4 separate regions of the Homo sapiens genome follow, and all the other regions are linked to region 3. The links are contacts of gene promoters, found by promoter capture Hi-C in blood cells and fetal thymus (Javierre and others, 2016). All regions are on one chromosome and are shown on one strand. The core of a region is centred on a gene start or on the middle of the fragment in contact, and the rest is flanking DNA. Distances in the headings are between cores, read along the strand shown. Region 1 overlaps PLXNC1 (plexin C1). Region 2 overlaps PLXNC1 (plexin C1). Region 3 holds the start of TMCC3 (transmembrane and coiled-coil domain family 3). Region 4 overlaps PLXNC1 (plexin C1).

Region 1 (2,700 bases), core at 175-2,674, 490 kb after region 3:
ATCTCTCTGTGACTCAGTTTTCTCCTCCATATGATGGAAATGATGATAAGAGCACAGACTTTTTATGCCACAGACTTTTTATGAGGACTGGGTGAGTTTGTGCGTAAGCCTCAGTAAAGCTTAGAACAGGTTTGGCACATAGCAACACATAACCCATGCTTGCTATCATTACTTCATTTAAAAACACAAGTTACTGCCACACCCATGGCAGTTATTTTCTCTTTGCCAAGAAGAACCCTAATTTTGTTCAGACAGCAATGAACCCAAGCCTGGTGGAAGCTATCGTTGGGCCAAGCCAAATGGCAGCTCCATTCCCTATTGCCAGACACTGGCTTTCCTAACCCTTAGAGCTGAGGGTGGTCATGTGGCCCAGTCCTGGGCAGGGAGATGTGAGAAGTCCACTGGAAGGATTTCTGGGAATAAGTTTCCTCATTGATAACAGAAGCCTCTTGAGGAGAACCCGTTTGCCCTCTTCCCTCACTTCCTCCTCTGGAATACAGTTGTGTGATCTCATCATGCATAGACTCGTGGCAACCGTTCTGTTTCCATGAGATTCAAGATGAAGGATACAAAGCAACATGCTAAGATTGGTGCAGGGGAAAGAAAAGAGATTCTATGTTCCTGGAGACACCACTGAGCCGCAGACCTTCAACTTTTAAACATTTTACTAAGTTAACAATAGTTGTCATGGTTTAAGCCACTGTTGGTTGCGTTTTCTGCTACTTGGAACCAAAAGGAAGTCACTGTTTAAGAAATGACAATCACAACTTGTTGGAGCGGACACTAAACTGCAGTTCTTCCCCAGCTGCAGGGACCAGGACGTGGACAAATGCTTGTTCCTCTCACCAGCCTGGAGGACCCTGGCCACAGTCAGGATTTTGCAGCCTATTACAACAGCGAGCCTGGAAGAAAACAGGAGAGGAGGCTTGGACCTCATGAAAACTCTAGGGGCTGCTCTGGCTGAATGGAAATGGATTCTTTTGTGCTGGAAACACACAGAAATGGACAGGTCCCTGTGAATGGGAAAAGGAACCCTTTGAATGGCTTTCTTATGCTTATTGCAGCAAATGAAAACAAAAGAAAGACAGGCTCCGGAGAAACGTCCTCACAAAAGTGAGGTTAATACCCAGGGAGCCAGGCAGAAGAAGGGGGAAACAGTGCAGTCAGCCCCCTGTGTCCAGAGATTATTCTTTCTCTCTTTTTTTCGGGCCTATTTTCTATCTTGCCCTTCTCTCCCCTTAGGGCATAATCGCTAATGTTGCTCTCAGCCTATTCTGTCTAGTTTATTATGTGTAATTTATTTCTGAATCCCAGCCTCTGCTTGTTCGTCTGTGTGTAACAAGGTTAATGCCTTGTAATGATGCTTTTGCCAGTTCTGCCTTTCATGACAAAATCCGATCTTGATTTCGCTCTAAACCTTGTCTCCCCTTTGGGCTTTCTTGGTTCCCTCAGAGTTGTCACTCTGCTTCTCCTTCCTGCCGTGTCTAAGCATAACGTCACGCCTACACGTTTGCCGGCTCTAAGAGGGAAACTTTTCTCAGTTGGAGGAGAAAGCTACCTTGGCTCAAGCGATGTTTGGGCTGAAAGAGAGAAAGAGCTTTGGGCCTGATATAGCAAACTGGGACCAAAGCTCCTGAGGTGTGTGTGTGTTTGTGTGTGTACGTGTGTGTGTGTGTGTGTGTGTGTGTGTGTGTGTGTGTGTGTGTGCAGGGAGTCATGGGCATATCATGAGGAAAACAATTAGACTTCTTTGCAGCTGCTTCATATGATTTTTCATGGACAATAAATACTCTCCCATTGTGCCCTGCACAACTGCAGGGGGTGCCAGTCATGCATTCCAGGGTGTGAAAGGCACCCTCTAGAGCTGAGCCACAGCTTGGCCCTGCCCCTACCATGTGAAAGATGGCCCGGCTCATCGAGGCAGGGTGCTCACAGCCATGCTCCAGCTTTTGCGGCATCATCGGGAGGGAATGGGCACAAAACTGGGGCCTCCAATGTTGAGCACCAAGCAAGAGTCAAGTGTTTTACCCCCAAGGTGCTAAAAGGATTCCTGTATGTTGATTTTACCTTACCAGGTGGGAGGAAATACCAACTGGGTACCTATCAATTTCTTGTACATGACAAAATGCCTTTCTTGGGCAGTTAATTTTATATTCTGTTCCCTTTGGGATCCCTTTGTTTTGAAGCAGTTTCATCATTTTCTGTTACTTCCCAAGGGGCCCACTTGCCATTAGGAAACCCCTGAAGGAGCCCTGCACCCAAGTTCTGGCCCCTGCTCTGTGCCTTATAGACTGCTTGATTCCAGCAAGTTAAGTCTCCTGAACCTCAGTGACTGTATCTGTAAAATGGACCTAATAATACCACATGCCCTGCCTCTCAGTGTTGTTGTGAGGTCCAGATGAAATCATGTGTTTGAAAATAATTAGATTACTTTTATTCAGCTAAGGAGATGGAAAGGACAACTATTTGCCCAAGTCGGACAGTGATTTTATTAGCTAGGAAGGCTCGGGTTGCTTTTCTCCATTCTAGTGTATACAGTGTTGACCGGGATCTGACTAAGTTATGGCAGCTCTCTGATCGTCTGAAGGAAGAATTTACACTGGGGACTCAAATGACCAAAAGGAGAGGTTCAAAGTGTGCTTAGGGACACAGCTGGGCAGCCTCTAGACCAGAAAACATCACTGGTGTGCAGCACAGCCG
Region 2 (2,700 bases), core at 87-2,586, 390 kb after region 3:
GTGTATTTTTGTTATAATACCCAAGTCCGTTTTAATAAAGTAGAGACACTATTTGCTAATCTGAAGCGCCCCTGGGTTTATGGTGGCTGCGTATTCTCTAATACATAATAAATAATTATTCAGCTTTCAAGAAACGCCACTGAATTCCGAAAGCCTCTAAGAATAATAATTATCATGGCATTAGTTCCAGGTTTGGTAGATGAAGGTATCATCCCACGTTTTAGAAGAAGTGATTTAAGAGTTAAAGAAGGGGTCATTGATGAAGATTATGCAAATATCAGACCCCTCTTCAAGCAATTTACCTTCTAAAGATAAAGACTAAATTACGTTGTTAAGTTTTACAAGTCTTACCTAAGTAGCATCTACTGTTTCAATACACAATGATATTGAAAGACAGGGGGTAGTTAAAAGCATAGAATCTGGACCAAACTACTTGGGTTCCAGTCCTGGTTTTAATCACATACTGGTCACATGACGTGGGATGTGTTACCTAACCTCTCTGTGTCTGACTTGCCTCATCTCTGAAATGGGGACAGTAATGGTTCCCACCTCAGAGGTTTAGTGTGAAAATAAAATGGGTGCAGAGTAAGTGCCCTGTGTCAGTTATCATTACTGGTTTTATTCCTAATTTATAGCAAACTAGACCACAATGCTATCACCCCACTGGTTTCTAAATGCTAGGTAGCTCTGGAATATAAAAAGGGTTTATAGTGTATCATCAATCTTATTAAAAATCAATGGTTAAACTTTAAAAGTATGTTAAGCAATACTTTAAGTCCACAGAATGAGACTCTAAACTCAAAACATTCAAGTTTTTCTTCTTTTTTGATAATAATAGAAACTTTGAGCTAATTTTATATCTTGTGAAGTAAATTTCTTCTGTAGAGAATTTTGCTTCATAGTTTCAAATCTGCAAGCCCAAGCAAAAGACCTGAAACTATTTTGGCCATATCCTCCCCTAGTAAAAAGCAAAAAAGCCCCAAAAAAACAAACCAAAAAAACCCCCAGACCCTAGGTTTGCATTTTCTGGTTCTTAATATTTTTCTGCTGAACCAACTTCATGTAAATAGACAGGAGAAACAGGTTGATTCTTAATCGTAAATACGGAAGTGCCGCCCTGGTTCTCTCTGTGTGTTTTTTTGTTTGTTTTGTTTTTTTGAGACGGAGTCTTGCTCTGTCGCCCGGGCAGGAGTGCAGTGGCGCGATCTCGGCTCACGGCAACCTCTGCCTCCCGGGTTCAAGCAATTCTTTATTTTTTTTTGAGACGGAATCTCCCTCTGTCGCCCAGGCTGGAGTGCAGTGGCGTGATCTCGGCTCACTGCAACCTCCGCCTCCCAGGTTCAAGCAATTCTTTTTATTTATTTATTATTTTTTTTGAGACAGAGTCTCGCTCTGTCGCCCAGGCTGGAGTGCAGTGTGGCGCTATCTCGGCTCACTGCAAGCTCCGCCTCCCAGGTTCACACCATTCTCCTGCCTCAGCCTCCCGAGTAGCTGGGACTACAGGCGCCCGCCACCATGCCTGGCTAATTTTTTTGTATTTTTAGTAGAGACGGGGTTTCACTGTGTTAGCCAGGATGGTCTTGATCTCGGGTTCAAGCAATTCTCTGCCTCAGCCTCCCGAGTAGCTGGGATTACAGGTGCACGCCACCATGCCTGGCTAATTGTGTATTTTTAGTACAGACGGGGTTTCACCATGTTGGCCAGGCTGGTCCCTAACTCCTGACCTCAAGTGATCCACCCGCCTCGGCCTCCCAAAGTGCTGGGATTACAGGCTTGAGCCACCGCGCCTGGACCCGTGGCTCTCTGAGTTTTAAGGCTGCTTCCTCCTTTCATTCAAATTTCCCTTTTCTTCAGCTTAGATCCTCTGCCTACCCTTATTTCTTCTCCTACTTTATGCAAAGCAAAGAAGAGTCAATAAAATAAAAAGCAAGGCTTTAAAAGCCAAAACCGACAGGCAGAGCAAAGAACCCTGGCCTCCTTTGAGAACCTACAATCTCCTCTGGATTTTGCCTGTTGCTTTTTTGTAGGTGCTGAACACCCAAATCCTACCCCCACAGCCCCCAACCTCCAGGCCTAGAGGATTCGGCTTCTGATCAATCCATAAAGAGCCTAATTAATACCAGGACTTATCTGCAGCCTGGAATGCATTTAAGTGGCATTGTCTTCTTACGATCTGTTTCCCTGTTCTATCTTTTCTTAATTATTATAAAATCAGTTTTGACTTAGGTCTTCTTGAAAGGGTTCTGACAAATTTATGCATGTTTTTTCCTGGGTTCTCTCCTTTAAACAACTTCTGACTTCAATTTTTATGACTTTCCCAGTTGTTTTTCAAGATTATACACAACACTGAGTTAAATCAGTTTGCCTCCTTTGCAACTATCTCTCTTCTCCTAAAATAAGGTAGCATTGTTCCTGGGATCTTTTTTTTTTTTTTTTTTTTGGAAACACTCAACTTGCAACAGTGTTCCTTTACATTCATTACTCTATCTTGTTCTTGATTACCAAATTTAGAAGATAAGAACATTTCTTTTTTCAGGCCACAGATTATTCAGCACTCAAGGGCAATCATTAACTGTAAAAGCCCACACAGCATTCATGTTGATAGTCAAAAATCTCCGTTATTTTATTGCTTTTAAATTCTTAATGGGGATCTCAGATAGCTCAGAAATAGGACTCGTGATGCAACCTTTGCAGAAGCCC
Region 3 (2,700 bases), core at 182-2,681:
TTTGCCCATCTTCAATCGCTGCTTCACCCTGATGTCAGATATACCTTCTCCTTAAACTTCCATTCCCATGCTATCATTTCCCTGTTCAAGAATTTCCAACAGCTACCCAGTTCCCACAGAATAAGGCTGAACTTCTTACCCTTGAACGAAGATTCTGCATGGTCTCTGCCTTCTTTTCCATCATGTCTTCCTGTTCCTGAGGACACTCCCCAAAACTGATGACTTGAGGTTTTCCCAAATGTACCTCTGATTTTAGGGGCTCCAAAGTTTTCTTCAGCCTGCTCTACCGTCCCCTTTGAACCCTATGAGGGAAATCCTTCCCTCCCCCTGGACTGGTCACACTGGGCTCCAGGTCCTCTCTGGAACAGCTGCACTTTAAATATTTCAGCCCAGTCTCCCACTGTACACCCTACAGAGCCAGAACAGGTGTTTTGAATTTTGTTTGGGGTTACTGATATTTAAATTGTTCACCAATGGTCCTTCCTCTTCTAAACTCCAAATTCCTTGTGGGCAGGGACTGATGACTGGGAATGGGGAATACTAAAATGAAAAGATATCCTGACTTCCAAGTAGCTTAAAACATAAAGGTAAGCTGGGCACAGTGGCTCACGCCTGTAATCCCAGCACTTTGGGAGGCTAGGGCAGGTGGATCACGAGGTCGGGAGATCGAGACCATCCTGGCTAACATGGTGAAATCCCGTCTCTACTAAAAATACAAAAAAATTTAGCTGGGTGTGGTGGCAGGCGCCTGTAGTCCCAGCTACTTGGGAGGCTGAGGCAGGAGAATGGCGTGAACCCGGGAGGCGGAGCTTGCAGTGAGCCGAGATTGCGCCACTGCACTCCAGCCTGGGTGACAGAGCGAGACTCAGTCTCAAAAAAAAAAAAAAAAGAAAGAAACATAAAGGTGAGCCAGATATGCAAAATTAAAATACACAACACAGTAGGATCTTAGTTTAAGTGGAAGTATGCTCTATGCTCAGGGCAATCATGGTCGGGGGGAGTTTTTATTTTATTTCATTTTTTTACTTTAAATCTCTGGTCTCTAGTCCAGCGTCTGGTACATGGCAGCTGCCCAGTAAGTGCCTGTTGAATGGAGAATAACATAAAAAGAGGCATTTAAGGCAAGTGTCAACTTCTTGCAGTAACAGTCACCTTTTATATATAAAATAAGTCAACAGATAGTGTAGTGTGGATGTCGCTTATCTTTTGGGGAGAAAGAGGGCTGTGTGGGAGGGGATGGAATCAACTTTCAGCCAGGGAGGGAGGCGAAGACATTGCCTCCCGGGTCGGGGGTGGGTGGGGGGTCCAGGCGGCTGCGGGGCGCGGGAGAGGCGGGGAGAAGGGAAGGGGGAGGAGACTCTCGCCTCCTGCCCCGCCTCCCCCACCCCGCGGCGGCGGCGGCGCAGGGCGGCCGCGCGGGTGTTGGCACCAGAGGCAACAGCTGCAGCAGCCGCGCCGCCCCCTCGCCCGCGGCTCCCAGGGTGATCCCGAGCACAGCCGGTGGCTCGCGGCGCGGCAGCCCCAGAAGACGGGAAAGTTCGCGGCCGGAGCGCGGAGATGCCGGGCAGCGACACGGCGCTCACCGTGGACCGGACCTACTCGTACCCCGGCCGGCACCACCGCTGCAAGAGCCGGGTGAGCGCAGCGGGCTGGGGGGCGGCGGGTGCGCGCGGGCCCGGGGGCGAGGCGGGCTGGGGCGGCGGCTCAGTGCTAACCCACGCGCCCCCGGCGTTTCGCCGCCGCCCTCCGCTGCCGCCGGAGGTCCGTGCCTCCCCGATCCTCCGAGCTAAAAGGGTGGGCGTCGGGGGCGTCGGAGCCCAGGCTGCGGTTCTGGGATCCCAGGTCCGCCTGCCCCTCACGGCGCCCAGGTCCCCGCGCGCTATGCGGGACGCCCGGTTCCCCGACGGCCCGCGCTCTGCTGTCCTCCCCGCCAGGGAGCGCCCGCCGCTCCGCGAGGGAATCCCGCCACCCGGCCACCCGCGGCCCCGCGTCTCCAGGTCTCCGGGGTCTCGCCCTGGGTGTGACGGTGCCCTCCCCGCCGAACGTCCCGGCGGCCGCCCTGTCTCCCTGTCCTCGGGGCGTGTGGCCGGAACCCGAGCGCGGTGCGCAGCCGGAGCGCGGGGAGGCGGCGGACGGGCTCTGCCCAAGTGAAAAGTCAGAATCTTTGCGCTGCCTCTCCGGAGTTTCGAGCCGAGCCGAGCAGGCGCCCTCGCCATTGTTTGCAGTGTAATTTGCTGTTGCTGATTTTGGCTGTGGGCGAAAATAGCTCATTCTGAGCCTGCTGCAGAGACGAGCCCTGTAGGGCTTCAAAATAAAGACGGAGGCCGCAGCCCAAGCGCGGGTCTGTCCTGGGAGAGGAAGCCTTCGCCCTCCCCGGTGAATACCTTTGCCCTCCCGGGCTGTTGAATCGTCGAGGCTGGATGTGAGGCTCTGTAACCCGTTCTCCCCAGGGCTGATTGAAGTGCCATTTAACAAAGCACCTCCTCCACGCTGGCATCTGTTCTGGCAGGAGGCACCTGGAGTTGTTCTTTGCTCCGCCAACTACTTACTCGCTTGTCCGAGAACTGGGGATTTGGGTGTCAGCCTCTGTGTAAAGTTCACGGAGGGAGAGCCGGGCTCAGATTCTGGCCTGCCACTTCCAAGATCGAGAGACCAACTGGATGGAAATAGTAGCAATAGTGACGGGGTTGTGTCGCGGCC
Region 4 (2,700 bases), core at 1-2,500, 440 kb after region 3:
TCTGACATTTGGGGAACCCTGCTCCCAATAAGCACATCTGTGTTCCACCTCCCACTACATCTGTGTCAGTTTCTTCTCCAACATTATAACCATGGGGATTTTCATCGGCAATTCTCCAAAGCCATAAATTTATCTGACCCTTGATGGCTAGCTCATCCGTCAAAGACATTAAGTTCAAATTAAACCGCCTGTCAATGTCAGAGAGAGTTTGCAACGGAGAGACAAGCACTGCTGGATTGAAAAACAGAATGACGAAGCTGGTTCTTTCGGTTGTATCTGAAATAGATCATGACTGTCAAAAACTCCCTGCCTCTCATGGGCACTCCGGTTTGTGTAAGGCACTTCCTCTGCCTATAAGAAAAAAAAAAATAAGCCAATTCCGAAGAGACTGGAGTACAAATATTTTTGTTGGCTCTTAATGCTGCCTGGGAGTCAAAGCCTAAGGCTGCCAAAAAAACAAGTGTAAAATATTTCATACAAATAGTGCTACAATTTGCCAATTTGTAGGCAGAAAACAGTAGTGCCACTGAGTTATCACTCCCTTTTCTGAACTCCTATAGCATTTCTTGTCAGAAGTACATATTTCGGTATTTAATCATATGCTGCCTCGAATTACAACTTAACTATTTCATAAGTCTATCTCAGTTCTCCCCAAGTAAGCTCTAAGCTCCTCAAAGAAGGGAGAAGGTCTTTAATATTTCTTTAGCAAATCCCTCAGTGTCTGGCAGCATGATATGCAAATACTAGGGTTTCAATAAATATTTTTGAATGAAAGGATGAAATATGAAATCTCTATAGGTCTTTTCTGTTGCTGATTTTTCTTTCTAGAGTTTTAATTCATGTCTGACTCCTCCTCATGCCAAAGAGACTATTTTTAAAACAAGCAAAAAGTTTAAATCTGGGGACAAATTGGGGGTGAGGTTTCCATTTTACTTTTTGAAAAAAAAAGGGAAAAGAAAGTATAAAATGAACCTTTCATTTTTTATTCTGCATAAGGCAAAAACAAAATCTAACCATGTTAAGCAACTAAACATAAATTCCTTGTTTTTATATATATATAAAAAAACAACCCACCACCTCTGAACTCCTATTCTTTGCCTCTCACCAGTACAAATAAAAAATGAAAAAATAAAAAGCAAACCATGACACCAAGTATGTATAACCAGATGGCCAGCCAACAACAGTATCTTATTACTTCTCAAATACTGCAGATTATAAAATCTTCATGACAGCATATTACTCATACATTTACATTTCTTACAGAGCAGATCTTATAGCTCCCATATTTTAGTAAACAAAGCTAGTTACTCTGAAATAATTCCTTTTGAAAGCTATCACTCTAATTCCTGCGTATCAACAAGAGCAACGGTCAAGTGCATAAACACTTGAGCCACTGCCCTAATTAAATTAAAATCTCATTGTCACACAGGACTCTTAGTGAGGCTGATTCTTCAGTGATGCACTCTCAGATAGGCTGATATCTTAATGGCTTCATTTCAATTTCTTCAGGCCAAGAATAGGAGGAAAATTGGATTTGGATAAGAATGGACATATTCTAGGGAAACTGGTAGAGATATATTTGCTTTCTTGACTTACTATTACTTTTGCTCCATCCTCTACTGAGGATCTATCCCAAAGTCCTCAGACTCCCAGTCAGTATTTTATTTTTCTAGTCCTTATTTCCACTTAGAGCTAATACTTTCATGATAAAGCCTGCAGGCAGACACAAGCCTATTTGCAAATTAGAATACAGAACCTGCCCAAATGCAAAGAAAAGATTGCCTGAAGGAAAAAAAAAAAAATCCCCCAAACCAAAAAGTTAATTTAAAAAGACTTCCCTTATGTGAAAAACACTGTATGTAGAAACAATTCAGTCAATGAAACTATTTAAGAAAGCTGTTCTTGTTAGTTTGCTATAAAATCTGCTGTAGAGCTTAATGTATTCGAGATAATACTAGAGTTTGATATTGGCATTCAACTATATAAGTATGTAACCGCCCCCTCCCTCACCCCCAACAGATTTAAAAAAAAAAAAAGTTCCAAACCTACTCCGGCCCCAAGTCATAAACAGGAAGGTCCCAGACACTTGTTTCTAAGTTCACTGTTTGAAAACTTAGAAAGTCTTTATATACAGTGGGTTTGCTTCCTGGGTTCATAGAAATATGTGTAACCCATAATATCCCTGAATAATTACCCCACCACAGACTGGCATGGAGGAAACATTACTGTGTGCCAGGCACTGATGGGAGTGTTTGCAGTTAGTTCTCACAACAACCTCACTCTTTACGGATGAAACAGAAGCTCAGAGAAGTACAGTAACATATCAAGGCCACATAGCTGCCAAGTGGCAGAAGTCTGATTTCAGAGCCCACAAACTTGGCCCCCTGGCTTCATGCCTTCCTATAGATCCTAACCACCACTTAATAGAGGACATTCATAGTTCCTCCTGGCTTCCTGGGACCTCAACCAGTGGTTGCAGGGTGGAGCTGGGCCAGGATGAGGACACAGGGATGGGGACCCCAGAAACAGAGAAGACAGAAGGTAAGGCAGAGACTGTAGGATGAAGCGGTTAGCAAGGATTTGGGGGAGAACACAGAAGTGGGCATTCTGAGAGGCCTCTAATTTTCCTCTATCACTAGCTGTGAATACAACACAACCACACAACTAGCAAGAGGTTAAAATTTCAGGCGGCCCTGGACT

Evidence for each region. The method cuts DNA at HindIII sites, captures the fragments that hold promoters and counts their contacts. A CHiCAGO score of 5 or more calls a contact.
Region 1: a contact is called between a fragment that was not itself captured here and the fragment with the promoter of TMCC3 in region 3, in 1 of 17 cell types (neutrophils). The highest score is 6.5, in neutrophils.
Region 2: a contact is called between a fragment that was not itself captured here and the fragment with the promoter of TMCC3 in region 3, in 1 of 17 cell types (neutrophils). The highest score is 6.8, in neutrophils.
Region 4: a contact is called between a fragment that was not itself captured here and the fragment with the promoter of TMCC3 in region 3, in 1 of 17 cell types (neutrophils). The highest score is 8.1, in neutrophils.

What each region holds. Positions count from the first base shown.
Region 1 is chr12:94,163,669-94,166,368 of GRCh38, reverse strand. The region is part of intron 1 of PLXNC1 (plexin C1); the gene reads right to left. Among named protein-coding and RNA genes, the nearest start is that of PLXNC1-AS1, 11 kb to the left of the region's middle. The HindIII fragment of the contact is 2,605 bases long and covers 122-2,700 here.
Region 2 is chr12:94,256,585-94,259,284 of GRCh38, reverse strand. All of the region lies in intron 17 of PLXNC1 (plexin C1), which reads right to left. Among named protein-coding and RNA genes, the nearest start is that of PLXNC1-AS1, 81 kb to the right of the region's middle. The HindIII fragment of the contact is 3,447 bases long and covers 1-2,700 here.
Region 3 is chr12:94,649,288-94,651,987 of GRCh38, reverse strand. It overlaps TMCC3 (transmembrane and coiled-coil domain family 3), which reads left to right and starts at 1,431. Exons shown (of 4, transcript NM_020698.4): 1 at 1,431-1,635. The coding sequence starts at 1,558. LOC105369914 (a long non-coding RNA gene) reads right to left here. Exons shown (of 2, transcript XR_945225.4): 1 at 2,385-2,700; 2 at 986-1,083. RefSeq lists silencers at 1,308-1,477, 1,498-1,967, 2,058-2,187 and an enhancer at 1,264-1,979. The HindIII fragment of the contact is 10,368 bases long and covers 1-2,700 here.
Region 4 is chr12:94,205,593-94,208,292 of GRCh38, reverse strand. The region is part of intron 4 of PLXNC1 (plexin C1); the gene reads right to left. Among named protein-coding and RNA genes, the nearest start is that of PLXNC1-AS1, 30 kb to the right of the region's middle. RefSeq lists an enhancer at 495-564. The HindIII fragment of the contact is 7,278 bases long and covers 1-2,700 here.